4 separate regions of the Homo sapiens genome follow, and all the other regions are linked to region 2. The links are contacts of gene promoters, found by promoter capture Hi-C in blood cells and fetal thymus (Javierre and others, 2016). All regions are on one chromosome and are shown on one strand. Each heading gives the region's core, a stretch centred on a gene start or on the middle of the fragment in contact. The rest is flanking DNA. Distances are from core to core; before and after follow the strand shown.

Region 1 (6,044 bases), core at 1,109-3,608, 420 kb after region 2:
AATTATGTAAAATTCAAATTTTATTGGAACCCAGCCATTGTCATTCCATTACACATCATCTGTGGCTGCGTTTGTGCTATGATGGTAGAGTTGCAGAGTCGTGACAGGAAACTTATAGTCTATAAAACCTAAAATATTTACTATCTTTACAGAAATAGTTTGCTGACTCCTGCCTTAATGTATAGACATGTTTGCTATTTTATTGGTTTACTTAAGCTATAAACTTGTGTAACCCATTGCTTTCTATGTATAGTATAGATCTGTTTATAATCTGAAAACTTCAGAATCTCTAGGTCTAGGTTTCTTCCTATAGTCTATCCCAAATTACTGAGCCTCCAGTGTTTTATTGATTTTTTAAATGATCCTTAGTAAAAATATTTTACATTGTGACTCAAGACACTCACATAAATAATAGAAACAAATTTCATGAAGCATTACTCATTCTTAATGTGTGAATCACTTTGACAGTTTCCGTTCTCTTCTACTCCAGTTTTTTAAAGTACCAGTCAAAAATCTACCAATTTCACACCCCACTTATGGGTCAATGCACACATGTTAATAAACATCATGAATCTAACAGATTCAAATCTAAACAACACAAAATGTTTCTCTTCTACACTGTCTACCAAGGAAGACGAGTACAGAAACAGCAATAAAGTTTAGATGATATGAGTTTAAAAGAAGTCTTTAGAAGCAAAGAGGGATAGAGCTATTTTTTTTTCATGGCATTGTTGGGTAGTTTCATCAAGAAAGATCTTGAAAGATGGTCAGGAAATCCTGGTAGAGAAGAAAAAATTGGGGGAGGGCACAACTCGCCCCATGTCAGAATGACATGCTCTGTAACAGAAACTCCACAGGTTAAGAACAAGGTCTTAAGAAATTTTTTATTTCTAGTCCCTAGTGTAATGTTTTACACAAAGTAGTTGCTCAGTAATTGTTTGTTATGTGTCCACTGAGTAATTGCTCCAGGACCTATTTGAGCCCAACTCTACCCACCTCTAAATATGTAAATTTGAGTTCTTATATCCTATTTTTTCCCACTACTTTTCACTCCTATTGGGTCATTTTAATTAATGCAACTGACTTTTTTTGAAGGTATACTGTGGTTAATGTTTGAAACCAAGATCCCAAATTTGTTTCTACTGCTCTGGCTGCCATGTTTGATTCTTAAGAAATTCATCAGAAGGGACCCAGCATTCAAACCCACACTGTGTTGCTGGTAGGCTTCCACTGTGAATCTCTTTGTTTGGTCTATCAGCCTCAAGGATCTTCTGTATGTGAGCTTAAGACCTCGAGAGGCCAGGCCAGGGCTGCCTGCTCTACACTTCCTTTTTCTGAATGCACCCGGGCCCACTCGCCTGTCCCTCTTACTACAGAGAAGCCAGGAAGAAACAAATGGATTTCTGCCTCTTTACACTCACATTCCAAAGGTTCTGCTTCTACATGATGCCATGTGAAGTCCAGTGCCCCTCCAAGACTCCCAAGATTCTTCATGGTCCCTTTGGCTCTGAGTCCTAGCTTTTCATGAACTCGTGATATCACTTGTGTTTGTTTCCTGTGATGGGTTGTCTCTTTTCTTTACCCCATTTCCAGGATTCGTCATTCACCCCAACCCAAGCCAATCCACAAGGCTTTTCCCCAGAATTTGGGATAGTGGAGATGTATGTCACCATAAGTCTAGCTGTTCTTTTCGTCCTAAATATTATCTGCTTCTCTGTTTTCTAGGTCAGGCATGTCACTCTCTTCCGGTATGCCTTAAAAATCAATAGCTTGCTTTATTAAGCAGAAAATAGCAGAGTTCGCCTTCCTTGTAGTTCTGGGCCTCTCTGCCTGTACCAAACTCATCCATTCTGGACAAAATAAATTGTTCGTAATGGGTTTCTCCATTTCAGCAGTGTACTAAGGGGGTGATGGAGGATGGGAGTGGTCTGCCCTGGGTGCAATAAGGGAGCGCCTGGGTGTAAATAATTTAAAAGCAATAATAAACTCAACTGAATATTCATCTGCTTTCTATTATCACCATGTGCCAGCAATTCTAACAATCTCAGCAATAAAATACTCCTCCCCACTGGAACCACTCCCACTGTTACCCTTGCCCAGTAGGACCCACTCCCACTGGTACCCTTGCCCACTGTGCTCCACTTTGGTAGGCACTGCTCCAGTTAGGAACACAAAACATGCAGGCACCTTGAAATGTCCATTGTTCTCATCCGCTCTGCCAGGGAGATTTCATTTTTCAAAGATAGAAAACTTCTTCCTTCCTGGAATTCTTTTTTCCATTGGCTTCTATGCCACTGCTCTCTCCTGGTTTTTCTCCACTGCCTCTACCTGTATTTCCTTAGTCTCCTTCCAAAGTTCCCCCTTCTCTGTGATAGACTCCTTCCCTGAACTAGTCAGGAAGTAGGCATGGTTAGTTGATTCTAAGGAGGTACTTACATGAGCAACCCTTGCCCAAACTTTGCCATGCAAATGGAGCCGAAGGAAAAATAGAGAAGCATCATGTTCTGGAGAGGGTTCCAAGGCATAGCAAGAGAAGTGTTTCCAAAATGGGGACTTGAATTGAGCAAGAAGAGACAGAGTGAGGGAGGCAAGGCTAGTCATCTGCTATGTGATGAAGGCAGCTCTCCTGAGGTCTGCTGCAAAAACATTCTATGCTAGATTCATGTGTAGGATTTCAGGAATGAGACAAAGGATACAGCCAAACAGTCTTTGGCAGAATTATATTACTCCACAGCTCAGCAGAAGGTTTGAATCTAGATAATTGAGGTGATGGTGGGAGTTTCTAGGTCGGAAAGGCAAAGAACTAGGAAAAACACTGGGAGTAGGTGACCAACCACAGCAGCCTGTGTGTTCCTCTCATCTTATATCCCCCAAATGAGAGCTGCTCGTCAGTAGTGCCCTATCTCACATATGGCCAGCTAGGGTGAAGCAAAAAGCAATCCACAAGCTGCCTAATGGCCCAATATGTATCAAGGTCTTTATCTAGAAGTAAGTGTCTAAAGAGTATCTCAGCACTGTGGACATGGCCAGAGGGCAGGGTGCAACTTCAACACCTTGGAGAGTGGCCACAGGTGTTGCTGATGTCTGGGAGGGAAGAGAAACAAGGAAATGCAGCCTCTTCTATCACATGCACTTGTAAGGCAGAAAAAATCTAAACACCCACACTATGGGCACTAGCAAGGAAAGGAGTCATTCTCTCAGATCGGGAGGGAGAACTCTCTGATCTTTCACTACCTTCCATGAGGTTTATCATTCGGAGACACGAAGCATCAGTCACTCTGACCCCACATGCAGCAGGCACCTGAGGCCTTCCCGAAGTGGGTCCTCAGCACCCACTTTATTCCACTTCACTTCCACTGTGGGAGGTTGAGTTCCATGCAGTATCTAGCTACATCCACATATCCGTGCCTCCCTTCTCTGCTTTCCCATTCACGTCTCCATTCACCAAAGGCTGGCTCTGCACTGGCATCTGACATCCCCACATGGACTGCTGTAATCAGATAGGAAGCTCCAGTCAACTGAAGCATCTCCAAGAATCTGAGTGGCTACCAGGCTGCAGGAAGGAATCAACTCATCTCTTTGGGTGCCCTACCAAGACAGACAAGAAGAACACTACAAAAAAAAAAAAAAAAAGAAAATCATATGTGATGAGGGTACTTTATTTATATATTGGAAGAATTGGTGTAAAATTTTGAGAATGAGGACTCCTTAAGAAGACATAAAATCCAGAAGTTATAAATGATTAGATTGGTATATTATACTATCATTTTTTAATGTTTATGATAAAAGTTACCAGAAAGAAAATGCAAATGATAGCGCAGACAAAATACTTTTAATACATGTGATACACAGGTTAGTATACCTAATATACAAAGAATGCCTACAAATTTATTTTAAAACAGACTAAAAGAAAAATGGGCAAAGGAGTTGAACAGGCCATTGATAAAATGAAGAAATGCAGATAACTAACAAACCTACAATAGGAAACTCAATCTCACTAGTAGGGAGATGTAAATTAACACAAAAATGAAATAGTTTTCACATCTAAGATTGGCAAATATTTAAATAATTTTAGTAAAAAAGATTTCTATTTTTACTGATTTAAATTGATACATAATAGATGTACATGTTTTCAGGGTGCTTGTGATAATTTGATATGTTCATACAATCAGCAGTGTAACTGGGATATCTATCACGTCAAACATTTATCTTTTTTTCATGCTAGGAACATTTGAATTGTTCTCTTTTAGCTATTTTGAAATGTACAATAGATTAATATTAACTATATATGGTCACCCTATTGATCTATTGAACACAGGTCTTATTTCTTCTAGTTGCATATTTGTAACAAAAATTTAAAAGAGCTAACATGCAGAACTGACAAAGAGGAAGGAAATAAAAACGCCTATGATTGTTGGTGGTGAGTGAATCCCTACACTTTTGAAAGATACTTGGACATTTATTTATTTATTTATTTTGAGATGAGTGTCACTCTGTTGCCCAGACTGGAGTGCAGTGGCGTGATTTTGGCTCACTGCAACCTCTGCCTCCCGGGTTCAAGTGATTCTCCTGCCTCAGCCTCCCGAGTATCTGGGACTACTGGTGCACGCCACTATGCCCAGCTAATTTTTTATTATTATTATTTTTAGTAGAGACAGGGTTTCACCATGTTGGCCAGGCTGATCTCAAACTCCTGACCTCAGGTGATCCACCCTCCTTGGCCTCCGAAAGTGTTGGGATTACAGGTGGGAGCCACCGCCTCCAGTCGTTACTTGGACAATTTCTAATAAAATCACAAATCCACATACCTATCGGACTAGAAATCTCATTTTGAGGATCTATTCTACAGATAGAAAACAAGCAGTGTTTAGATGCAAAACAAACAATGATTTTAATGGCAAAAGGAGGTAAAATTGTCAAAGGGAAATTTTCCACTTACACTTGCCCCAGAAGATGACAACATAAAATTAGATATTTCATTCCAACTGATTGAGAAAGAACCATGAAATTGAGTGACCCTAAGAAGACAGACCTAACAGAACTACTGGAAGATCTTTGCTGACCAGTGAACAATGGAAGAGACACATGGACTCATTCAACCCTTAATTAGCATCCTAGCCTGAACTCTCCCTTTCCTAGCACTCAAACCCTCCTAACTTTTCCCCTCTGCAAAGTTCTCAGTGGATGTATTCACTGACGTGTACTCCTTGCCAGGCACTTTAATAAACGTTTTATTTTTTTCAATGCTCTTGTGGTTTTTGTCTTATTATTTGGCCAGAAAAATTAAACCACATGAGTTATGATTTGGACATGCTAAATTGTATTGCCCACAGGATGTGTCCTGGAATGAGGCCAGCAGGCAGTTTCAGGTCTGTACCCAAAGCTTGGCTTAGGTGTTTGGGAAGAAGTAGATCAAGAAGCCACCAGCAAAGAGGTGTTAGTTGAAGCCAAAGATAGGAATAGGATACCAACTAAGCGAAATGTGTTGCTGAGAAGATAAGAAGGCTTGGGTGAAAGCACTGGAAGATTTTCTAAAAGATGCCAAAGCATAAAGGATGAGTGAATATATGATCATTTAATTGAAGCGTTCTATGTTTATTCTTTACTTGCAGCCAACCTCCAATGCCCAGTACCTCCTGTTGCTTATAGTTTTAGACTGTTTTGTCTCTTTACACATAGTAATTTTTTTTCCAGACTTCATTCAGCAAACCAGGGAGCCATCTGGCCACCTCATGATGGAAAAAGCATAAATGTTCTGGGAGGTTCCCTATAAATTATCATTATTGTGCAGCACTGATAAGGAAACAAGATCTGTCTGTGTTTTAAGGAGGACTCTCAGTCCTCAGGTTTATGTAAAAGGAATATATCTTCATTTAGATTTAACTTAATTTCTATGTGGAGCCCCACTCTTGCCTCTTTTCCATGGGAAGAATCCCAATATCTTCAGGTTTACCCTGACCCCAGCCACACAGAGGTCACCTTAGTCCTTTCAAGTGAGGCAGCAGCTCTCTACTTCCTCTGTGCCTTTCTTGAGAATCAACTTT
Region 2 (6,163 bases), core at 1,504-4,003:
TCCAGCTCACACTGACTGACAGGTCTTCCTAGAGCTTGTGCAAAGCCCCAGTGCAGAAAAAGCAAACAAACAAACAAAACCCCCCAAAAAACTTGCCCTCTAATTTAGGGGGCATCAAGAGAGTGTTTGTAAGGCTGAACTGGCATCAGGTTTCACTACCCTGATATTCACTTATATATCATGCTATCGACTTTTTTAAGTTTAAGGAAGCTGTTATGAGATTAAAGGAGCATGTCAATGCAGAAAGATTTACAGGTGTACCTCACTTTCAGCAAACTGAATATCTGAAAACCAGTGTAGTACAAAAGATAAATTTGCAAAATAATTCATTTCACTCCCACTTTGAGTAATTGGTTTACCATCTACATTTAAAATACAAACTGATTTTCCACAATTTGTTTTACATAAAACATAGTAAGCACATAGGAGCTGCATATAGAGAGATGTACAGGGAACTAACAAATCAGTATTTGGACACCACTGCAAAGGATGGAAATGAAGATTTCCCTGATTTTAAAAGTGTTCATTGACTACAGGAGCTAAAAAAGACTTCTAATAATTTGCAAGTTATAAACAATCTTTATGCAAAGAGGGTTAGTAGTTTGGAATTTTTTTTGAAGTTTTCTCCTAGCTCCTTCTTTGGGTTTCTCACATTCAGTTATCTCAGGAAGGACATCAAAAGACTCCATTTTAAAATCACAGTGGTAGGTGTTTTAAGCATACTTTCACATCCCAGGTAAACATTTAACACCTGTGCACACATAGACATACACATTGGAGACCTAAGATACTCACAAAGGAGACAATACCAACAGAGCTGTGCTCCAATAATCAATTTTCCATCATGCTACCTGAAGAGCCATTCATTCCAGAATACCATCCCCAGTGTTTGAAATGCCAACCTTTTCACTTTCAGTCAGCTTTGGGAACCCTAACCTGTTGGTTGCCGGAACAGAAGAGCTCTCAAATGCCTTTGCCAAGCATGTTTCTCTGTGGATAGAGACAGGCTAAATACATACATTTTACATTGCAGGAGAAATTTAGAACACCTCTTGGGTAAGCTTCCTGGATCCCTATCCGTGGAGTTTCTTAAGGATAGCATAACTGTCTCTCATTCCTGAATGAGAATTCCTAGCATTACAGAGTAAACTGCATTAGAATTCTGAGTATCTTATGATACTGATGAAATGCTCTTTCACATCCAAAACAAACAAACAAACAAACACAAACCAACGAACCAACCAACCAAACAACAACAACAACTACAACAACAAACTGGAGAGTTGCAGTGGGAGCAGAAAGTCCCAGAATCCTCTAGGTGTACTTAAAACAGGAAGGCAACAAGAGGCTGTCTGACAGAAAAACAGGCCTGGAGGAATTTACAAAGCCCCTTCCAGGGTCTAGTCCTTTGACCAAACCCTAGGTATTGTTTGCAGCCTGCAAGGGTAAAGGGGAGAAGGAATATATGGAAAGGAGCAAAGCAGAAGTTGAAAGTGTCAGGAAGATGAGTGGAGAAGAGATGAAGAAAGGGGAGTTAAATGAAGAAAAGGGGGATGTGTGTTGAAAGGAAGAGAGAGAGTGATGGGTAAAAAAGAGGAAAAAAAGTTGAAATACATAAGATGAAGTTCCCCATCAACAAATGACTCAGTTGATCAGTAAAAAAACCCTCAGAGTGGCCAATCTTCCACTTGACCCATACCCCACCCAGTTCCAAACCTCACAGCAATGCCGTGGTCCTCTATGAGCACTTTCTCGCCTTTTCACAAAGGCTAATCTCACCTATCAAAGGCCACAGCCGTCATGGAGTAGATACTGGCGAAGACAGCGGCGATGGGAAAGAAGTTGTGGAACTTGCAGTAGAACAGGCCGTAGTACCATTCGTTGTGGACAGCATAGGTGAAGTTCACCACTGTATTGAATGCAGCCATGGAGGCCTCCGCGAAGGCCAGGTTCACCAGAAAATAGTTCGTCACTGTCCTCATTCTTTTGTGGGCTAAGATGATCCACATCACTACCACGTTGCCCACCACAGAGGTCACCACAATGACCGTGTAGGCAGCTGCCCAAAGGACAATTTGCCAGGCTGGTTGCACGAACTGATTGGGTTCCGAGGTGTTAGTGGAGATGTTTGGGGAGAGGTCTGAGTCCACCGGGAGGACGTTATCCATTTCGAAGCTAGGCGGTAAAGCCCTACTATCTGTACACAACCCCCCTCTGCAGCAGAGTCCTGTGGCTGGCGCCTGGGGCTCAGGGTCCTTCTAAAGCCAGACAGGAGGGTGGAAGGCTTTTTCTGGGCAGCACTCTTTTTGAAAGCTGAACTGGCGCTCAGAATATAAACGCTTCTGGATGCACTGCCCGCCTGCCCGCGGTGGCTCTGAATTCCTCCACTTTCAAGCTTCAGGAGACGTTTGAGTTCAGAAGTCTGGAGACAGCATCTCTCTTGCGGTAAACTGAAAAAGGGAAAGAAATTCCACCGGTCACAGTTCTAGGAAGCAAGAGATCCCCCGCATTTATGCACCTGCTGCTGCCTGCAACTCCTATTTCTCCTTCCTCCGCAGGGAAAGGCAAAGCCCTGTGCTGCGTGAGGACTTAGGAGCGAAGTGGGGGCCCATTGCAGCGCGACCTGTAAAAGTTCTGAGCCTATGGCCAGGATTCTGGAGCTTCGTATCCAGCTGGAGATTTTTCCTTCTCTTTTGCTGCCGCTGCCGCCGCCTGCAGTTTCGCGGGCACCTCTCGGTTCGGGTTGCTCAGCTCGCGAGTTAGCTGCGCACGAGGCTTTTATAACCCCCTGCAGAGACGTCACTGGGAAGGGGCAGTACCTGGGCTGCGTACTCGCCAGTCCCGGTGCGCAGCGCGGCAGCTGCGCCAGCTGTTGACAACTGTCTCATTCCACCGCCGCAGCTACCACGCCTTTTGCTGCTTGCTACTTGCCGTGGGAGTCTGCGAGCCGGGAGCCCCACGCACTCCGCGAGGGGGCAGTAGGTGGCTTGGAAGTAACTGACACAGATGCGGTCCGCAGCTGGAATCGTCGTTGCACGAGGGGTGCTGGGAGGAAGGAAGGATTTGGGAAACAGCTGGAGTGGAGGACAATCAACTTCCAGGGAATGAAGCCCAGAGCCCTGAGACAGCTCTGCAGAGGCGGCTTGCCTGTGGCAATGGGAAACGGTCATGTGTGGGGGCGATGTGCCAGCGCCGCGCTCCGGGCCGCGCTCCAGCTACCGAGAAGCCAGAGGCGACGACTCCCTGGTCCAGGTGTCCCGAAAACAACTTTCCTGAGGCTGTGTTTAGGAAACACCCCCACAAAATATCTAGCTCAGTTACCTGGCTAGCTGATTCACCTGGGAAGTGACAGTCTCTAAGCTTTGAGGACACTTTCCTCAGCCACCCTGGTGACTTGGCCCCTCGTTCCAGGAGAAGCTCCATTTGAGCCCTCCACCTGACCCCTCTGGATGAGCCTCTGCTCAATCACTGGGGACAGGGCTGAGCTCCCTGCGAATCTTGGTGAGCGCAGGAGCCACACTCATAGGCAGCTTGTCGCTCAGACGCGCGGCTCTGGGCTCTCCGCCAGCAATCACTGCGGCGCTGCGTTTGCCTCCCGGGGACCTGGCAGCCTCCGCCTCCGCGCCTGCCAAGCCTGCAGGCCAGAGCCGGGCTCGGGGTGGCATCGGTGGTCCTTCTCCCTGTTCCCCTTCCAGGTTTGCATAGGGGCTGGAGGACAGGTCAGCCAGCCTTCTCTGCCCGCCTCCATCCTGCCCTGCCGTCTTCTGACTTTGAGGCCTCGTATCCCAGTCCAAGACCATTTCAAACGGTAGAACTGGTGCCAGACACTTGGAGGAGGCAGGGCAAAGACTCGCCAGTCCGTATAAACCCTTTTGGAGAAGCCAAGATGGGATGAGCTCCGCAGCACGTTCCCGCCAGACTGCTGCAGGCAGAGTTCCGCGGAAAACTGAACCCCGGGAGTCCTCAGGGGCCCATCTACCCCGGTGCACCGCCCCCTCCTTTCACTGCGGGGACTCGGAGCTGTGGGACTGGAGCGCGCACCGGCAGACTTGCGCGCAGGTTGGAGTTGGCGCACACCCGCGCCAGCCGGGGAGCGGCGTTTACGCACTGGTACCGCGAGCGCTCAAAGCATCTCTCGGGAAGTGCTTTAAGGCTGGGAAATTTACTATACACTTATGCCGGGCAAAAATTGGATCCCACGCCGGGGAGGAGAATCTGCTGTTTCACTCTGTATTTTTTCGGAGCCTGGGATTTTAGCGTATATAGGAACCGCACATTGCTTTGCCAGGTTCTCCTAGGCACCCGTAAACACACTGCATAGAAAACTCTAGAGATGCTTTCAAGAGAACAGCGTCCCTTTATTTAGAGCGGCTGCACAAGAGGTCTTCTTTGTGGAAGGGAATGCCTCCTCCACCTTGGATCTCTGCTTGAGGCTTCCACCATCTCAAAGAGCTGACAGAGAGAGGGAGGAAAAGGGAGAGGGAAGGGGATGCGGAGGGTGGGGGAGGGGGGAGGGGAAACTTCTCTATCTTTAATTTTCCTTCCAAGCTGTTTAAAGTTATCTTTTCTTTTTTCTCCCTGTCCATTAGAGCCAGGCTGACGTTTTCAAAAGGAACTTTATTCAGTGGTTAAGGGAGAAAAAGAAAGCTAATCGAATAAAATCTAAATATGTAATAAGAGCTAAATATAAAATAAATATGAAATAGCTAAAAAGTAAACATTAATCCATTTATCCTCCATTAGTACAGCAAGTTGATATTTTGAAGCAGGTACTGTGCTGGGCACTGGGGCTGGGGGGTGAACAAGCACTTACAGTATGGAGGAAGACAAACAAGAAGCAATGAACCATACAAAATGGGCGGTATTATGATGACCAAAGGTACTAAGCCCTGAGTGAGGAGAGAAGAGGGAGGCCACCTAACCTAAACAATGAGGGGTATCCGTACAGATGGAAGAAAATCTCATCCATGAAGAAGCCTGAAGAATGAGTTAGGATGGGAAGAGGTTGAGGGTGGAAAAAAGGCGAATATTTCAGGCTGAAGTTTTATAAATCAAACCTTGTCACTCTGCTTAAAGTCCCATAATGACTGCCCACCTATGAGCCTGCAGGTCAGAGCGGGGCCCTGGGTGGCATCAGGGGTTCTTCTCCCTGCTCACCTTCCAGGTTTGCATAGGGACTGGAGCGCAGGTCAGCCCGCCTTCTCTCCCTGCCTCCATCCTGCCTAGCCCTCGGCTAACTTTGAGGCTTTGTATGCCAGTCCAAAGCCACCTCAAATGGTGGAACTGGTGCCAGGCACTGGGACACCTACGTTCCTTACCCTGGCCTTCAACTCTGATGTGTTGATGAGTCTGACTTGGGGTTGTTTTTCTTTCTACTCCGGGATTTTCATGGCTGGTAGCCATATCTTAGGAATCCTTATGACTTGCTAAAGCTAGTTTCTCTTCTTAAAAAGAAAAAGCATATTCATGATGGGTTCACCATTGAGGAAAAAAAAAAGCCTCAGCTATACAGTAGCAGAAGTTGTTTTTGGTTCATACCTATGATATGAGGAGACACTTTATCTAGCATCACCCATCTATAAAGTAATGAATTTTCCCCCTACAGCTTTGCACAAATATATAGATAAAATTCTATACATGCTATTTCCCTCCAAGAGCTGATATTCTTGTTTTCTTATCCTTTTTCCCCCTTCGTTCCTCTTTTCACTGAACATCTTCCTTGACACTCAACACAGGATCACACATCTTAAAGTAAACGCTGTTAACAATGTAGTATAAATCCTTCCTTATTTGTCCAGACTCTTTGATACTATCTAGATGGAAATACAAACATACATAATATTCACACATGTAAATGCAAATATAGGACTTTCATTGTTGTCTGTATTTTGTTTTTCCCACTCTAAACTTTGCCCAGCTGTTTCAGAGTCAACAGGTATAGATTTAACTCATTTTTCAGTGGTTAAATATTATTTCTATGTTATGGATACACCGTAATTTATACATTCAATTCTCTATTCATGAAAATTAACTTTGTTTCCAGTTTTTGTCACTAAAGGCAATTAACAATAAACATTCTCTACATCCTGGTGTTTTCTTTCTATGGGGGTAGATTCAAAGTGGAATTGCTGGGAAGTAGATTATATTTATATTCCTATGCATA
Region 3 (5,782 bases), core at 3,172-5,671, 280 kb after region 2:
TCTTCTTTTGTGCATTTCTGTCCTGCTGCTTGGTAAATGTGTGCTCACTCATTCATAATGAAGGCTTATCAGCCCAGCATTGCTCATCCTGCTGTTTGACAGTTGTGCCTCCTAAACCCTTTGAATCTTAAATTAGCGTCACAGCAATGTTATGATTCATTGCTCTCACTCTTTCTCGAGGTTGTGGTTGTTTCTTTTAAACAGCTCTTCCATTAAGGTGAAAGAGCCAACACAGAACACACACATATATCTTCCCCAGTCCCCAGCTCTGTGGGTGGTCCAGCAATTTAGTTCCAAATATAGCCTCTGAGAAGGGGAAAGCATGCTTGTTTGTCTGCTCTTGAAACTTAATTTTCAATGGAAGTCAGTACTGGTAAAAGATAGTTTAAAATTTTTGAGGGGGGTATAGCTGTTTGTGTTCCACACTATCTGAGTTCTACCGGTTTGGCTCTGTGTCCCCACCCAAATCTCACTTTGAATTGTAATCCTCATAATCCCTGCATGTCAAGGGAGGGACCTGTGGGAGGTGATTGTGTTATGGGGGCTGTTTCCTCCATGCTCTTCTTGTGACAGTGAGTGAGTTATCACAAGATCTGATAGTTTTATATGGGTTTGACTGTTCCTCCTTCTCTCTTTCTCTCTCTCCCTCTCTCAATCTCTCTCTCTCTCTCTCTCTCTCTCTCTCTAAGAGTTAGAAGATGCTTGCTGCCCCTTCGCATTTCATTAGGATTGTAAGTTTCCTGAGGCTTCCCCAGCCATACAGAACTGTGAGTCAATTAAACCTCTTTCCTTTATAAATTACCCAGTCTTTATAGCAGTGTGAAAATGGGCTAATACACACAGTCTTAAAGATGAACTTTAGCTTTGCCCAATTTGGCTAATACAGAGGATGAATATCATTCATTCATTCAACAAATGTTGGGCAGGCTGTGACATGCTTTGGCTGCATCCCCACCCAAATCTCATCTTGAATTCCCACCCAGTGGGAGCTAATTGAATCATGGAGGTGAGTCTTTCTCATGCTGTCTGGTGATAGCAAGTAAGTCTCAAGAGATGTGATAGATTTAAAACAGGGAGTTTCCCTGCACAAGCTCTCTCTTTGCCTGCTGCCCCTCATGTAAGACGTGACTTGCTCCTCCTTGCCTTCCACCATGATTGTGAGACCTCCCCAGCCACATGGAACTGTAAGTCCTTTAAACCCCTTTTCCTGTATAAATTACCCAGTCTCAGGTATGTCTTTATCAGCAGCATGAAAACAGACTAATATAGGCTCTGTTTTAGGAGCTGGGGATACAGCAGTGAACTTTTGGTGGAGCTTGTATTCCAGTGAAGAGAAGACAGACATCAAAGCATACGTAAGTGATGTAATGTTGGATTATGTTAAGTGTTATGAATAAAAATAAGATAATTTTGGGTAAAATGACCAGGAAAGGCCCCTTTGATGAGGTATTATTTGGGCAGAGACCTGAATGAAATGAGAGATCCTTTCCACTTCCATTGACCATGGCAGACATGAGTAATCAACCAGAGCCATCATTTCTTTTTCATGGAGCCATACAATTCTCCACTCAGTACTCCAGGCCATCACTGCCATTTGGTTGGTATTGACATGCATGACTGGGCCTATTTTCCATTCTATTCCAAAAATGCATTTCTTTTCTAAAATAAGGAGGAAAATTTAAAATAGAGAATGGATCTAGGGACAAGATTTTACCCATCATTATTTAAGAGCTTAATGATGTAGGATTGTCTCCTGTATGAGTCTGTTTTCACACTGCTGATAAAGACATACCCAAGACTGGGTAATTTACAAAGAAAAAGAGGTTTCATGGACTCACACTTCCATGTGGCTGGGGAGGCCTTGTAATCATGGTGAAAGGTGAAAGGCACTTCTTACATGGTGGCAGCAAGAGAGAATGAGAGCCAAGTGAAAGGGGAAAGCCCTTATAAAATTATCAGATCTTGTGATACTTATTCACTACCATGAGAACAGTATGGGGGGAAACTGCCCCCAAGATTCAATTATCTCCCACCGGGTCCCTTTCACAACAAGTGGGAATTATGGGAGCTAGAATTCCAGATGAGATTTGGGTGGGGAGACAGCCAAACCATATCATCTCCTCTTCTCTTGTCAAAAGGAAGATGTTTTTGTCCTTTTGTGATGATTACTTTGTATGTCTGAGTATATAACTCACCTCTTTAGTGGTTTATGGCCCTCTCACAGTCATGGGGCTGTGCAGCTACCTAGCTTTATTAGTCCTAACTACCAGCTTTAAATTGTGGATGCTGTCATGCCATAGGCATATTCTTATATGAATATATAAGAATATATACATGCCTGAAGCGTGTTGTAAGTAGCATGTTTTCCTTAACAAAATCCATTTTCATAAATAAAAACACTCTACACATACATATCCCAATTTTCTTTTTATCCTTTCATTTATTGAGTACCTGTTGGGTGTCAGACACAGAGTATTAAAGATGAATAAGACATAGTGTCTTACTGAGTCTTGTATAAATGCTAATGGAGAATAAAATAAAATATTATATACAGGGGAAACTCATATCTTATTCTCTTATAATTATTTTTAAGATACATGACTCTACAAATCACAACCTTAGTGATCACCAATGACCTACAGTTGCCAATCCAGTGGGAATCTTTATTCTACTTGATTTCTACTTAGCCCTGAGGACCATTTCCTGCTTTACTCCAGTTGCCTTTCTCAGTTCCTGTTGTTATGTATTATCTTGCTCTTCGTTCTCTTCCATCTTTCTCTGCATTCTTTCTCTTGTGGATCTCAGTCACTCTCAGATATTTAATATTACTTTCATGCAGCTGAGTCTCAAATATGTATTCCTGCTTACAACTTCTCTTCTGAGTTATAGTCCACTGGAATATAATTCTGGGACCTGAAATTCTATATGTTCAAGTCAAACACATGATCACTGTAGTTACTAGCGTCCTTCTGATTGCAAATGATGGAAATGCAACTTAAACTGGCTTATATGGGAAAAAAGAGTAATAAATTTTCCTGTGCAGCCAAAAGACTCCTGAGCTACATCCAGGAACTCAAACAGTATTATCAGAAATTGAGTCTGCTCTCCTCACCTCTTCTCTCACTCCCTCCCACCATCCTCTCTCTCTCTCTCACGTGTGTGTGTGTGTGTGTGTGTGTGTGTGTGTGTGTGTGTGTGTATGTGCTCACTGACTTTCTAGGTCAGGGTCTCCATGTTATAGCTCCCATAAGCCCCAGGCTTTCCTTCACTGGCTTAGTAAACCTACAGAAAGGGAGAGAACTTGTCTTTCCCGATAGTTTCATAAAAAATCCTACAATTGAATTTCACTGGGCTAACCCAGTACACTGGCCAACCTGTAACCAATGGCATGACTCAAATGTGGAAATATGCTCTATTAAAGTATAAGATTTGGGGAGTTATTGATAAGCTTCAATCACATAAACTCAGAGCAGGAAGGCTTAGTTATCTATAGAAAAAAATGAGTAAAAGGGAAAAGTATGCTAAGTAGGCAAAAGCAACAGATGTCAGCTATAACCCACTGCCCCCAAAAAACCCTCATCAACTCCATTATTTCTATTAAACAAGATAATGCGTGTAAAACATTATGTAAATGTAACAGTACTCCTCTATGTTATTAATTCTACTGGTATAATTTTTTTTTTCACTCTTATTGCCCAGGCTGGAGTGCAATGGTGCAATCTTGGCTCACTGCAACCTCTGCCTCCCAGGTTCAAGCATTTCTCCTGCCTCAGCCTCCTGAGTGGCTGGGATTACAGGCGCCCGCCACCACGCCCAGCTAATTTTTTGTATTTTTAGTAGAGACAGGGTTTCACCATGTTGGCCAGGCTGGTCTTGAACTCCTGACCTCAGGTGACCCACCTACCTTGGCCTCCCAAAGTTCTGGGATTACAGGCATGAGCCACCGTGCCTGGCCTCTACTGGTATAATTTTAATAATATTGAAAGTTTAAATAAAACAGGCTTGAACTCTTGGAGCCATCTTTGGCTGCACCCTCCTCTCTCATCGACATTTAATCAGTTGTCAGAGCTTCTTGATTCTGCAACCAAACTATTTCAGTATCGGTAAATCCCTTATGACCAGACTCTACTCTTTCCAATCCAGATTAACTTTTTTTGAAGCACAGTGCTGATCATATTTTGGCTCATAAACCTTCCATACTCTCCACTGCCTAAGGACAAATAGCCAATCATATCAGCCAGTTAGTTCTCAAAGTCCAGGAACTAGATCCAACTTAGCTTGCCAGATGTGCTCTCCACCATTCCACTTAGCATGCCCTCTGCCTGTAGCCAACAGGAACTACTCACTGTCTGTAAATTACTCCATCTCTGAAACTGTCTCTGGCTGTTTCCTAGAGATGAAATGCATCACTCCCCACTTTTCTGTCAGCATTCTCATCACATTTTGGACCCACTTTTAGGATCCCTGTGGATATTTCAGAAAGGTATAGTGACATAGTAATTTAAGATTATTTCAAATGGACCAAAATCCTGGATCAAACAGACATTTTCTGTTAATCTAGGATGGTAGATTCTGGTCTTGGAAGATTCTTTTATATATGAGAATATGTTATTTACCCACAAAGGGCTTTGGTAAACAATAAATAATCTAGTGTGCTGGTAACTCGAATGTACTGATAAGGCCGCCTTTCTGAGAAAAGAAGGCAAATATGGTGAGTACCTGCTGTTTGCCATCTGCTGTTTGCCAACTGACACAGGAAGTGTAAGTGTTCAGCTTTGAGGAAAGACGGCTAACGGATACATGTTTACTTTTAATGTGTATTTATTTGGCTTTCTTTGTGTGCTGAGTCTTCATTCTCACTAAAACTGAATACTTCAGGGAAATGGAGGCAGCTCCATGGCTGTGTTCTCCAGCTGCCAGTTTTGTCTTTATTCTCGGAAATCCTAACACTTCATATCTTTCAGTCTCATTCGTACCAATTTATGCTTTGCTAAATAGCCATTAAGCACTTTTTTATCTTCTCTGGCTGACTGAGGCAGGGGACATAATCCTTTTGATGTTCTGAACATAGTAATTATTCAGTAAACATTTGTTGAAGTGCGAGTAGGAACTCCAGAATCTATGTCAAGGGATCTTGGTGGGTTAAAAAAAAAAGTGTGCTTTACAAACATTCTACCCTTTCACAGATTTTTTTCATATTAAATAATAGAAATTTTCAGACATAACCAAGAGTTAGTTGTATTTATTTGTTCATTTTTCACCAAAAGAAGGCATTTTATTCTCTTTTGGCAACTTCAATTAGCTTTGCAGAAAAGAACTCAAAATAATACAATTAGTATTACCACCTTGTACAGCAATTGCAACAACACCAAAATTTCCTCTGCATTTCAAAAAAAAGCTTTTGGATGTGAAAACTTAACATTCCTTCATTCATGTAGCACATGTTTACTGAGCACATGCTAAGGTATGGCATTGTGCTAGGAATATCAAGACAAAATTTATTGACCTCATAAAACTTAGAATCTAGTTGTGATGACAAATAAGAAATTACCTGACTAAATATCCTTTAACAGCATTAACAGCATTAACAGCAGAGAAATTCAATTAATAAACTGCCTGCCTCTTTCATTTGCAGGCTATCAAGATTGATTCAGGTTGATTCCCAGGGTTCTGTTTTATTTCCACCCAGGAAACACCAGCATTCTTGAATCCTTTCAGCATTAGGCAAAGGAGCAGATGTGGGCATTCTGCATCTCAAGGAGGTCTTTAGCAACACCTGCTG
Region 4 (6,126 bases), core at 2,739-5,238, 360 kb after region 2:
CTTAGGCTCTCATTAATGCACTTAGCAAACCTTATCTCACATTAACTGAGCACTTATTATATGCCAAGCACTGGGCTAAGCCCTTTACCCGCATAGTGTAAAGAGTATGTGTTTTGAAATCCAGATGTGTGCGTGAATCTTGGCCCTACCGCTCATTAGCTCCATGACTCTGGGCAAAGTGCTTAGCCTCTCTGTGCCTCTGTTTCTTTGTCTGGAAAAAAGGGCAATACCAGTAGTAACTGTAAAGGACATTATAGGTTTTAAATGAGTAAAAATGTATAAAATGCTAAACTTGAACCATGTCCTGGAATTAGGTAGGCACTCAGTATTAAGATGAATGATTATTATTCCATTAGTTAGTCATACTAGTCTGCAGAGAAGGTACGCTATTTCTTCTTACCAAGAAGACTTTGAGAGACTGATTCAACTTGACCAAGGTCAAGTAATTAACTTTTAACAGAGTTAATAAGCGGCAGAACTGAGATTTGAACGCAAGAAGCCTGACGCCAAAGCCTGAAACCATCACTGTGAGCATCGACGGCACTAAGCTAGATTCTAAGTATGTAAGACCAGGGGAGAGATAAACAAAATACTGCAAGAGATACATATTTATTTTTTAAAAAAAAGGAGGGGAGAGGGGAGGCTGAGGCTGAGGCTGAGGCTTTCCCCCAACCTGGGGCAGGGCAGGGAGCAACAAAATGGTCTGTAGGAACTGAAGAATGATGCTTCACCCAAAAGGAGACTTAACTTCTAGTCTCAAAGATTGATTGCCAGCCAAGGAGGAAGAAGGGCATTCCAAAAAGTCAGGACCTAGAATACCAAAAGAATAGTGGGTTGGGGGAATGTCAGGAACATTGACGAAGTGGCATAAGGTGAGGCCAGTTGTGAAGAGCCATGTGTACAAGGTCGGGGGTTACATTTTATTCTGTAAAGACAGTGATTTTCAAACTTTAACATGCAGAGGAATTACCTTCAGTGCTTGTAAAACACCTGCAGATTCCCAATTCCCATCCCTTCTGCTAGCAATAGGGGACCAACAAGGGTGCTAAGGCAATATAGCCGCATGACCTGCTGTGGATTTGGCAACAGAATTCTGGCACTGGAATGGAGGGAAAGACTGGGACAGAGACTGGTATAATCAGCCAAACTAGAGCAGATAAAAGGATGAGAGCTGGAAATAATGGCACTCTTCATGAAGTGAAACATTAAACCTGGGCTTCTCAACCTCAGCACTATTAACATTTTAGGCTAGATAATTCTTAAATCTTGGAAGCGGAGTGGGGGAGGGGGGAGATGTCTTGTGCAATACAGGATGTGGCAGCATCCCTGGCCTCTACCCACCAGATGAATAAGATCCTCTTCTACTTACATGATGACAGCCAAATATGTCTCCAGACATTGCTGGATGTCACTTGGGAAGTAAAATCAAAATTCCGTTGAAAACCATTACTTTAAGCCCTAGCATCCCTGCTTTACAGATGAGGAAATCCAGCTACAGAAAGGTACAGGAAGGCCCCAGCCAGGATTCAAGCTGGTGGTCTCACTCCAGGGCCCGGGCTCTTAGCCACTGCGCTTGACTGCCTTTATGGAAAGGAGATTCAAGCCAGCCTTCTGAACAGTATTACACATTTCGTGACAGACTGGATGACAAGAAGGGGATGAATTAATAAGATTCAAAGGTGAAACCTCAGTGCTTGCCGCTGAACTCAGAGGACAGTAGATAATAAGTAGTTTGGGTTTGAATATAATCAAGGTATATTAGGTCAAAACGGAAAAAGCCTGGTCCCTTGTACTATGAGAAAGGAGGTGGGGGGGGGGCGGGGGAGTTGGGGGGACGGTTCTTGCTCAGACTAAAAAGAAGAATCTTCTGTAGGGCTGGACTTGAAGTGTATGTGTGGTATAGACCAGCTAGGACCCAAATCCTGGCTGGGCCCTTTCCTAGCTAGCTGTGTGGCCCCATCTCATTTTGCCCGTTTGTAAAATAGGGGTAAGAGTCCCTACACACAGGCTTGTTATGAGAACTCAGGCAGTTAATAAGAACAACATGGCAAGCCAGCACGATGTGGTTGGCACTCCTCTCCTTCCAGGACATCCTCATTTCCTCCATGTCCCAACGCGCTCCGTACTGCGTGCCAACACCTCCCCTTACCCCTCAATAGTAGGGGTGGGGACCCCCACGCAGACCTCCCAGATAGAGCAGCGTGGACTGTCTGCGCGCCCCTCTCCAAAAGCAAAGCGTCCCACTGGGACTTTAGGGGGCGCCAACAGCCTTTCACTCCCTGATGCACTCGGCTTTCGGGGTCCTGGGGGTCGCCAAATGCGCGCGGCGAGTTGGCTGCCTCCGAAACAAACCAGGTAAATAGTCCACGGTGCAGCACGTACATTTCTGGCAGGTCCGCCCCGCGCAGGCTTGGGATAGAAGCCAGTCAGGCTCAGCCCAGCTCCCAGAGGCACAGGAGAGAAGCGCTAGATTTGGGAACGACCTGCTTTCCGAAGCTGGGCTGCAGAGGCAGGGAGTTGAGAGTTGTTCTATCCAGAAAGAAGCAGGGGGGGCGAGAGAAGAAACAGGAAAGTGGGAGGAAGAGGAGGCAAAAAAGAAAGCGCTGGGAAGCAGAGTTCCCTGTGGGACCCAGCCTACAACACCTGGGCAGGGACTTGGGAACAAAGCAGCTGCTTCAGGTCAGAAGTGCTCTGGGTGTTTCCGAAAAGAGGGCGCTTCGGAGAAGCCGGAGCCCGCTGGGGATGCCGGGCGCCCCCAGAGTTCAGGGAGCGCTCTCGGGCACCTCTTACCTTTGCTGGGGCCCCGGCGCGCACTTCCGGGGACTGCGCTTGGGGCGCGCGGGGCCGAGCAGGGGGACCCGGAGCTGATCACTGAGGGGCGGACACGACAAAGCGCTGCCCGGGTCTTGGGCCGGCACCAGTACCTCGGAAAGGAATCCCGGCGGAGGGGCCGCCGGGGTCAGGGCTGGCCTGGGGATGTGGGGTCCCGGCCTGGGTGCTCACGGACGGCGGCGCCAAGCCCCGCAGAAGCTGCAGGAGCCCGAGTCAGTGGGAGGAAAAGGTTGTCTCATTTCCTTCGATCTCCCCCCTCCTCCACCCGCTTGGCTCCGGACCTGCCCTCCCTCTCCCCCGCCCCCTTCTGCAAGCCAGCGGCCCATGTGGGCGCCCGCAAGACGCGAAACCTGAACGGCTGCGGCGTGCGGCACCTCCCTCCGCGCCAAGTTAGTTCACGCTCCCAACTCCTGCCTGCCTCCCCGCGCTGCCGACTGTCCGCAGGACCGGGGAGGTTCCCCATCGGCAGTCCCCAACCTATCCCGGTCCTCCAGGCTTTCCCCCTGCTGGGACGAGCCCAGATTTGAAAGCAGACCTCCAAGCCCCTGCCAGCATCCATCCTCTCATTCCTGTCCCGTCGCCTGCTTTGAGCCTGTATTCAGCTACTCAACTCAGACAGGAAATAACCACTTACTTTGTTAAATTTGATCAACTTTTTTTTTTTTTTTTTTCTGAGTGGGAAGTTAAAGCCTGATGCATAATCTCGAAGGAATGTTCATTTTTATCGGAAGAAATGCAGCTGAGGCCTCTGTTTGGCCTTTCTCTTTCAGGGTTGGGGTTTTGTTTGTTAAAATCAACAAGTATTTTATTGAGAGTGATGGGCGCTCAGCTGGGGGCTGGAAACGCAGAAACAACTAGAGGGACACCCTGTTCCTATACAATCGTCATAGGGGAAGAGTGCAGGGAGAGAACAGGTCCCGGGTTGCGGTGGTCTCTTAAGAGATGGGTCACGGAGTGAAAGAGCCTTCTACAGAATCAAAATAAAAGCTTGGACAGAGGGAAGACGGAATAAGAAAGCCTTCAGGAGGCGGTCTAGCAAAGAGCACAGCCAGGGCAGTGAGTGATGGTGGGGAACAGGGAGGAAAATATTGTGCCAGTCCGTTAGGAAAGGAGAGGAGCTCCTAGAAGCAGTGTGATGGAACTGACAAGATCTGATGACCAAGGGCTTGAAAGGGAGAAGATGAGGAGAGGATGAAGGAGAGAGGTGACTCCCAGGCCTCTGGCTAGAGTAGCCAGTGACCACGTGGATGACTAGAATCCCAGAGTGCCTTCTGGAGCTGCTACTCCAAGTGTGGTCCAGAGACTGGCAGTACTAACACCACATGGAAGCTTTATGGAAATGAAAACCCTCGGGCCGCACTTGAACCACTGGATTAGTATCTGCAGCTTAACAAGATCCCTAGATGATTCAAATGTGCATTAGAATTTGGAAGCACTGGCTGCTAGACCACTGACTGTATATTATGCTGTATATTGGACTGATTGTATATTAGACTATGGAGCCCTGGGTGTCTATTAGAAACACCTGGGGAGCTTTAAAAACCAATAGGTGGCCCCAGCTCCACCCTCACAAATATTTCTGTAATTGTCTGGGGTGGAGCTCCCACATCAGTTTTTTTTCAGATGCTCTCAAGATGATCTCATACAGCCAGAGATGAGAGCCACTGTTTCAGACTTACTCAAGAGCTACTTCATTTTACCTTGAAATGCTGCTCTTCAAAAGGAAAACAACACCTATCTGTAGATGAAAACGTAAAGACAGGTTATTCCACTCTCATGCAGAGGCAACTGGTCTGGTAGAAAGGGCCCTTGTTTCCTAAACTAATCAGGGAACAAGGTTCTAGCCTCAGACAGCACTAAATTACTCTCTGAACTTGAGAAAGTACTCCCCTCTCCGACCTCTGTTTCCTTATCTGTAAAAAGAATACATACTTGCCTGACTCCAAATTCCACACTCTGGCATGCAAGGGCCATCATCAGAGCTCCCCCTAACTCTCCAGCTTTCCAGCAGGCATATGGAGAGGCTGTGATGAGAAGCGGGGTTTCCTGATGTAATACTACGTGTGTTAGCCAAGGGCACAGCCCTGTACGAATATCAGAGATCAGAGGTTTGTGTGCCGAGTACAGGAGCACACATACAATCAGTGCTCAGTAAATGTGTGTTGAATGAACTAATTAGTAAAGAAATAAATAGATAGGGCACAGGTGCCAATAGGTGAGCACAGACTTTCTATAGATGGGCCCTAATCTTGAGCCTACTTATTTGCCCCCAGGCTGGAGAAAGGACACCTGGAAGCACTCTGACCCAATCTACCTTTGGATTTAAAAATACTACCACTACTAAGAACTGCTAATATGTGTTGGTACTTAGTACGTGCCAGTCACTGGGCTGTGTCTCACTTATAAACATTGCCTCATTTTATTAAAATGAAGCAGATACTGTTGAACCCCCTACACTTCAACAGATTTCAGGAATCACAGGTATGGAGAGACTAGAGCTGCCATCTAGATTATCTACTTCTGGTTGTGCAGCAGGACAGAAGTGCATCCGTTGCTAGCCTGAGAGCCCCTCTTGGGGTTCCTACGGGTCATTCTCCAGAACATGCATCCCTGCATGAAGGCCAACATTGAGATAAATGACTACTTAAGGATCCTACAGAGGTAGATTCTACCAGGAGCTATGTCAGAGGACCTATGGGTTATGGCTGCACCTTGGAAAGGAACCCCTCAAAGCTACTAACTTCATGCTTGCATGCACACGTGTGTTCATGTGTGTGTGTATGCTTTTAATGAGAGCCTCATAGATACCGAACTCTACGCCAATCCTTTCCACATACATTTCTTTTAATCAACACAGCATCTTGATTGGCTAAGTATTCTTGTTCTGTTATTTTATAAATAAGAAAACTGGAACAACATGAAGATCTGTTCATCTCTGTAGCCCGTTTCTTAAGTATACATTCTATTGCATTGTTGTTCCTGTCTACCACCTCTGCCCACCCCCATTCTATGGAGGCAAGAATCTTCACTTCAAGTCCCATTCGCTTGTTATGGTTACAAGTCATCAAAACTCTCTGTGCCTCATTTTCCTACCCACAAAATAAGTTGTCTTTGATTGCTCTTTTTTGAAGGTACCGTGTGTGGCTTGACACTCTAGGCTGAGAGGAGATGAGGAGAGATAACCCACAGACTGTTAAGAGAAACTGAACACTGGGGTGATTTATTCTAAGATGAGAGGGCCCATTGCTTCATTAATGGCAAAATTATTATAAAAGAGGGAAATAGCTATTTTCC

Evidence for each region. The method cuts DNA at HindIII sites, captures the fragments that hold promoters and counts their contacts. A CHiCAGO score of 5 or more calls a contact.
Region 1: a contact is called between a fragment that was not itself captured here and the fragment with the promoter of TACR1 in region 2, in 3 of 17 cell types (megakaryocytes, fetal thymus and naive B cells). The highest score is 7.2, in megakaryocytes.
Region 3: a fragment that was not itself captured here is called in contact with the fragment with the promoter of TACR1 in region 2 in 5 of 17 cell types (total B cells, megakaryocytes, erythroblasts and 2 more); the score reaches 8.9 in total B cells.
Region 4: a contact is called between a fragment that was not itself captured here and the fragment with the promoter of TACR1 in region 2, in 2 of 17 cell types (naive B cells and total B cells). The highest score is 5.7, in naive B cells.

The regions. Positions count from the first base shown.
Region 1 is chr2:75,620,071-75,626,114 of GRCh38, forward strand. LOC124906026 (a long non-coding RNA gene) reads left to right here. Exons shown (of 3, transcript XR_007087115.1): 3 at 1-3,936. Among named protein-coding and RNA genes, the nearest start is that of MRPL19, 24 kb to the right of the region's middle. The HindIII fragment of the contact is 6,046 bases long and covers 1-5,381 here.
Region 2 is chr2:75,196,767-75,202,929 of GRCh38, forward strand. TACR1 (tachykinin receptor 1) reads right to left here and starts at 2,754. Exons shown (of 5, transcript NM_001058.4): 1 at 1,780-2,754. The coding sequence starts at 2,168. The region is part of intron 2 of TACR1-AS1 (TACR1 antisense RNA 1); the gene reads left to right. The HindIII fragment of the contact is 965 bases long and covers 2,394-3,358 here.
Region 3 is chr2:75,476,803-75,482,584 of GRCh38, forward strand. No RefSeq gene overlaps it. Among named protein-coding and RNA genes, the nearest start is that of EVA1A-AS, 44 kb to the right of the region's middle. The HindIII fragment of the contact is 1,950 bases long and covers 3,447-5,396 here.
Region 4 is chr2:75,557,890-75,564,015 of GRCh38, forward strand. EVA1A (eva-1 homolog A, regulator of programmed cell death) reads right to left here and starts at 3,050. Exons shown (of 4, transcript NM_001135032.2): 1 at 2,791-3,050. RefSeq lists a silencer at 3,000-3,059. The HindIII fragment of the contact is 342 bases long and covers 3,818-4,159 here.